2 separate regions of the Homo sapiens genome follow, and region 1 is linked to region 2. The links are contacts of gene promoters, found by promoter capture Hi-C in human tissues and cell types (Jung and others, 2019). All regions are on one chromosome and are shown on one strand. Each heading gives the region's core, a stretch centred on a gene start or on the middle of the fragment in contact. The rest is flanking DNA. Distances are from core to core; before and after follow the strand shown.

What was found. The method cuts DNA at HindIII sites, captures the fragments that hold promoters and counts their contacts. A contact is called where the count stands out against the background at its distance.
Region 1: a contact is called between a fragment that was not itself captured here and the fragment with the promoter of KLRG2 in region 2, in 1 of the 25 tissues and cell types used here (hippocampus).

Annotation. Positions count from the first base shown.
Region 1 is chr7:140,546,262-140,549,724 of GRCh38, reverse strand. DENND2A (DENN domain containing 2A) reads left to right here. Exons shown (of 20, transcript NM_015689.5): 13 at 2,786-2,926. Among named protein-coding and RNA genes, the nearest start is that of MKRN1, 68 kb to the right of the region's middle. The HindIII fragment of the contact is 6,920 bases long and covers 1-3,463 here.
Region 2 is chr7:139,482,100-139,485,381 of GRCh38, reverse strand. KLRG2 (killer cell lectin like receptor G2) reads left to right here and starts at 1,709. Exons shown (of 5, transcript NM_198508.4): 1 at 1,709-2,496. The coding sequence starts at 1,740. RefSeq lists silencers at 1,540-1,599, 2,060-2,339 and an enhancer at 2,470-2,549. The HindIII fragment of the contact is 6,160 bases long and covers 1-3,282 here.

The sequences.
Region 1 (3,463 bases), core at 421-2,920, 1.1 Mb before region 2:
GGATCATATGGTCATTCTATTTAGTTTTTTGAGGAACTGCCATACTGTCTTTTTAATTTTAATAATAAATTTTATTTAACACAATATGTACAAAATATTATTTTATTTCAGCATATAGTTAACATGAAAAAAATCATTGATATATTTTATGTTATTAATTGTCTATTTCGAGGGCCGGGCATGGCGGCTTACACCTGTAATCCTAGCACTTTGGGAGGCCGAGGTGGTTGGATCGCCTGAGGTCAGGAGTTCCAGCCTGGCCAACATGGCAAAATTCCGTCTCTACTAAAAATACAAGAATTAGCTGGGTGTGGTGGCACATGCCTGTAATCCCAGCTACTTGGGAGGCTGAGGCATGAGAATTGCTTGCTAGGAGGCAGAGGTTGCAGTGAGCCAAGATTGCGCCATTGCACTCCAGCCTGGGCGACAGAGCAAGACTCATTCTGGAAAAAAAAAATGTGTATTTTGAAATTCCATTGGTATTTTACACTTTTTTTTTTTAGATGGTTTTGCTCTTGTCACCCAGGCTGGAGTGCAATGGCGCGATCTCAGCCCACCACAACCTCTGCCTACTGGATTCAAGCAATTCTTCTGCTTCAGCCTCCCATGTATCTGGGAATATATCTGGGAATATAGCCTGCCACCACGCCTGGCTAATTTTGTAGTTTTAGTAGAGATGGGGTTTCACCGTGTTGGCAGGCTGGTCTCAAACTCCTGACCTCAAGTGATCCGCCAGCCTTGGCCTCCCAAAATGTTGGGATTACAGGTGGGAGCCACCATGCCCGGCTGGTATTTTACATTTAACAATACATCTGGGCCAGCACAGTGGCTCATGCCTGTAATCCCAACACTGGGAAGCCGAGGTGGGTGGATCACCTGAGGTCGGGAGTTCGAGACCAGCCTAACCAACATGGAGAAACCCCGTCTCTACTAAAACTACAAAATTAGCCAGGCGTGGTGGTGCATGCCTGTAATCCCAGCTACTCGGGAGGCTGAGGCAGGAGAATTGCTTGAACCCAGGAGGCAGAGGTTGCAGTGAGCCGAGATCATGCCACTGCACCCCAGCCTGGGCAACAAGAGCGAAACTCTGTCTCAAAAAAAAATAAAAAATAAAGTAAAAAAACCTCTGAATTCAGACTAGCCATATTTCAAGGGCTCAATAGCTACATGTGATACTTTTATAAATGGCAGTTTTTAAAAATAGAGACTGGGTCTCACTATGTTGCCCAGGCTGGAGTGTGGTGGCATGATCATAGCTCATTGCAGCCTCAAATTCCTGGGCTCAAGCAATTCTCCTGCCTCAGCCTTCCAAGTAGCTGGGATTACAGGTGTGTGCCATCTCACCCAGCTTCATAAACGGCATTTTAATTTAGACTCTTCAATTTACAATTAGATTGTGGAGAGTTTGGAATTTTTTTTTTTTTTTTTAGTTTTTTAGTAGTAGCTTTATTAAGATATAATTCACATACCATGCAATTCATTCATTTAAAGTACACAATTTGCTGAGCACAGTGGCAAGCGCCTGTAGTCTCAGCTACTCAGGAGGCTGACATAGGAGGACACTTGAGCCCAGAAGTTGAAGGCAAGCCTGGGCGACCTAGCAAGACTCCCATCTCTAAAATAATAAAAAATAAAAAATATATACAGTTCAGTGGCTTTCAGCATATTCACAGAGTTATACAACCATCACCACAATTTTAGAGCATTTTCATCACCCCAACAAAACACCCTATACCTATTAGCCGCCACTCCCTAACTCTAAGCAACCTCCAATCCACTTTCTGTCTCTCTGGATTTTTCTATTCTGGACATTTCATCTAAGTGGAATCATACATTAGATGGCCTTTTATGACTAGCTTCTTTCATTTAGCATAATGTTTTCAAGAGTCATCCAAGTTATAGCATGTATCAGCACTTTGATGGCCAAATAATATTCCATTATATGGATATAGTGCATTTTGTTTATCACTTCATCAGTTAATGGACATTTAAGTTTCTTCTGTGTTGTGGCTATTATGAATAATGCCGCTACAGACAATCATGTACAAATTTTTATGTGAACATATATGTTTTCACTTCTTTTGGGTAGGTACCTAGGAGTGCTATGTGCTGGGTCATATGGTAACTCTATGTTTAACCTTTTGAGGAACTACCAGACTGTTCTCCAGAGTAGCTTCACTATTTTACATTCCTACCAGCAGTGTATGAGATTTCTAATTTCTCCATGTCCTTGTCAACACTTGTTCTTATCCATCTTTTTATTAGAGTCATCCTAACGGGTGTGAAGTGGTATCTCATGGTGCTTTTGATTTGTATTTTCATGATGGCTATCCCCTCCCATGACATTTTCATTTCATAAATAAACTGTATATCTGTTTATGTACTGTGACCTCTTAGAGGGCTACAAACCACTGTAATATCTAAGTTTTTTCATTCCTCCCAAAAACCAGTTCTTACCCCCTTGGGGTTATATTACCTTCATTGAGAATGCATGTATTAGTACAACCTGTCACATGGCCAAACCCTAGGTCAAAGGGGCAAGGAAGTGGACTTCACTCCTGAGTAGGAGCTGCAACATTGCATGGCAAAGGGTGTGGACACACAGAGGAGAGAAGAATTGGGGACAATCATGTGTAGGGTCAAAGGGCCTGTTTTGGCCTCATGGGGAAAGCAGGGCTTCCCCATAATTCTTGAGTCACCATGGCAGGCCCACTTCACCTAGAACTGAGCTCCACCTTGGTGCTTTGGCTTCGGAATAGCTAAGCTGCTTTTCTGACCCTTGCAGATCTTGGATGAGGTGGAAAAAAGACGAGGCATCTCTCCTGCCCTGGTTCAGCCACTCATGAGAAGTGTCATGGAAGCCCCTTTCCCAGCCCTGGGCAAAACCATCCTTGTCAAGAACTTCCTGCCAGGTTCAGGAACTGAGGTGAGTTGTCAGACTCCTTCCTTCTCCCTGGGGAGGCAGTGGCCCAGACAGCCGAGTCTCCGTGCTCAGAGGGGCTGCCTTTCAGTGAGCAGTCCAATTCCTTGGTGTCTTCTCCCCACCCCTAGAGCTGGCCCAGATCACTCATCATGAGTTCCACCCTCAATCCATCCAGCCTAGGACTCTGCCCAATGCGGCAAGCCCAAGAACTATGCTATGGCAGCTGGGGTGTTCCTTTGCATGATGTTGGCCTCAGGTTAGGGATCTGCACTGAACATCCTTAATTTCTTTTAATAGCCCGTTTTCTTTCATACATTTTATTGAAACCTATTTACATTTCAAGTCTGTATCACCTCTATAACTTTATTTTTTGTTTTTGTTTTTGAGACAAAGTCTTGCACTGTCGCCCAGGCTGGAGTGCAGTGGTGTGATCTCGGCTCACTGCAACCTCTGCCTCCCAGGTTCAAGCTATTCTGTTGCCTCAGCCTCCCAAGTAGCTGAGACTACAGGTGCCTGCTGCCACACCCGGCTAATTTTTGT
Region 2 (3,282 bases), core at 460-2,959:
CATGCCACCATGCCAGCTAATTTTTTGTATTTTAGTAGAGACGGGGTTTCACTGTGTTGCCCAGGCTGGTCTTGAACTCTTGAGCTCAGTCAATCCGCCCACCTCGGCCTCCCAAAGTGCTGGGATTACAGGCGTGAGCTGCCGCGCCCAGCTTAATTTTTGCTTTTTTAGTAGAGACAGGATTTCAGCATGTTGGCCAGGCTGGTCTCGAACTCCTTACCTCAAGTGATCCACCTGCCTCGGCCTCCCAAAGTGCTGGGATTACAGGCTGAGCCACCACGCCTGGCCTCATCCCTTCTTAAAACGAGTTTTCCATTTGCAAACTGCTGGTTTCTTGGGGGCATTGTCCCCATGAGCTTTTCATAAAAATATCAATGATGTCACCATAAATGTGATGATTATTCTTGCTTCAAATTTAGCAGAATCCTTGTTGCTCTGACAGGAGCTCTTTTCAAACTGATGTCTTATCCTTCTTAGTGCCTCAAACTAGATCTTGTCGAGACATGTGATAACAAGTTAGTACAAATTTATTTTGGTGCCAAAAAATTTTCAAATCCATGCATAGTTTTTTTCATAGTATGAATTTTCCATGAACCTTTTGAAGACCGCTTGTATAGAAAAAAACAGTATATATAGGGTTTGGTGCTATCCAAAGTTTCAGGCATTCACTGGGAGGTCTTGGAACTATCCCAGTGGATAAGGGAGGACTACTATGCTAAAAACTATCCCTTGTTTAACTGAAATTCAAATTAAACTGAGTGGCCTGCATTTTATCTGCCAACCCTACCCTGGGGGCACTTAAAAATACCAGAGGCCAGGCGGGGCGCGGTGGCTCACGCCTGTAACCCCAGCACTTTGGGAGGCCGAGGCGGGCAGATCACGAGGTCAGGAGATCGAGACCATCCTGGCCAACATGGTGAAACCCCGTCTCTACTAAAAATACAAAAATTAGCCGGGCGTGGTGGGGTGGGTGCCTGTAGTCCCAGCTACTCACGAGGCTGAGGCAGGAGAATCGCTTGAACCTGGGAGGCGGAGATTGCAGTGAGCCGAGATCGGGCCACTGCACTCCAGCCTGGCGACAGAGCAAGACTCCGTCTCAAAAAAAAAAAAAAAAAGAAGAATTGCTTATCCACGCCCTGTTTCTTTTCTCTTAGCGTTACTCAGTGGGGGAGTCCTCCCAAGTATGATGGAGAGTCCTTTCGAAACCCTGCTGGATTGTCAGGACAACCAACTGGGCTACTTTTCCACAGGTCGCCCCAATTCCTTTGGATTCTGATTTCTCTGAGGTCCCAGGATCCAGACAGGCTTGGCCAATCCTTCCCCGCCCAAACTGTAACTCTCAAAACCAACACCCCGGCATAGGGCTGGAGGGGAAAATGGGTGAGGTCAGAGACAAAGAAGAGGGAAGGGTCAGGCGGGGCTCCGGGTTCCCTGCCACAAGCCTCCGCTGGTGTTCTGCTTTTCTCCCGAGAGCTCCCGCCCACCCTGCAACCCTCGCCTGGCCCCGCTGCCGTTCTCAGCTCCCTCCCAGTGCCTGGTGGAGGCCGGGGCTGTGTCCCGAAGGGGGTCGGGGCAGCAGAACCTCAGCCACAGCCAATCACAGCGGGGTCCTTCGGGGAGGGGCGTGGCCTGACAACTTCGGCGACGCGGCTGGACCAATCCGGACGGAGGAGAGCGAAGCTCCTCTGCACTGGGCCCAGGTGCGCTCCTCAGCGTCTCCGGGTGGCGGGGCGCGCGGGATGGAGGAGTCTTGGGAGGCTGCGCCCGGAGGCCAAGCCGGGGCAGAGCTCCCAATGGAGCCCGTGGGAAGCCTGGTCCCCACGCTGGAGCAGCCGCAGGTGCCCGCGAAGGTGCGACAACCTGAAGGTCCCGAAAGCAGCCCAAGTCCGGCCGGGGCCGTGGAGAAGGCGGCGGGCGCAGGCCTGGAGCCCTCGAGCAAGAAAAAGCCGCCTTCGCCTCGCCCCGGGTCCCCGCGCGTGCCGCCGCTCAGCCTGGGCTACGGGGTCTGCCCCGAGCCGCCGTCACCGGGCCCTGCCTTGGTCAAGCTGCCCCGGAATGGCGAGGCGCCCGGGGCTGAGCCTGCGCCCAGCGCCTGGGCGCCCATGGAGCTGCAGGTAGATGTGCGCGTGAAGCCCGTGGGCGCGGCCGGTGGCAGCAGCACGCCATCGCCCAGGCCCTCCACGCGCTTCCTCAAGGTGCCGGTGCCCGAGTCCCCTGCCTTCTCCCGCCACGCGGACCCGGCGCACCAGCTCCTGCTGCGCGCACCATCCCAGGGCGGCACGTGGGGCCGCCGCTCGCCGCTGGCTGCAGCCCGGACGGAGAGCGGCTGCGACGCAGAGGGCCGGGCCAGCCCCGCGGAAGGAAGCGCCGGCTCCCCGGGCTCCCCCACGTGCTGCCGCTGCAAGGAGCTGGGGCTGGAGAAGGAGGATGCGGCGCTGTTGCCCCGCGCGGGGTTGGACGGCGACGAGAAGCTGCCCCGGGCCGTAACGCTTACGGGTGAGTGCTCACCTGCGCCGGCAGCCGACGCCGCCAGGTCGGGTGGACGTAGCCGAAACCCCCACACCCGCCCAGCCCTGGACCGCTGGGCAGCTGACCGACTAAGGGACCCAGTTGGCCATCCCGATCCCCAACCCGATCTGGCCTCTCGGGCTTACAATCAATAACATTCCTGTCTACGTAACTGTAATTCACATTGTTGCCGTGTCTCACGCCTGTAATCCCAGCACTTTGGGAAGCCGAGGCGGGCGGATCACCTGAGGTCAGGAGTTCGAGACCAGCCTGACCAATATGATGAAACCCCGTCTCTACTAAAAATACAAAAATTAGCCTGGCATGGTGGCATTCACCTGTAATCCCAGCTACTCAGGAGGCTGAGACAGGAGAGTCGCTTGAACCCGAGAAGCGGAGGTTGCAGTGGGCCGAGATCATGCCATTGTACTCCAGCCTGGGCAACAAGAGAGAAACTCCGTCTCAAAAAAAAAAGAGTAAAGCCACTCCCCTTCTCATCCTCCCCTACCCGCACTCCCGAACTTTCAAATTCCCTCTTAGCATGCGCAGCACCTTTGAGAAGTAGCAGTGGAAGGAACTCCAGATGAGGGGAAGTCATTCAGGATCAGGTGGCAGGGGTGGCAGCCCAGATCCCCCCATCCCTGCACTGCCAAGGACTTTCTGGAAGGTCCAGGCTGCTGCTTTCTTTCCACCACACTGAGGAACATTTAGCCCCAAACACTCATCCATTCAGTAGATAGTGAGTGGGACCACAGGGTAGATGTGCCAGTAGTA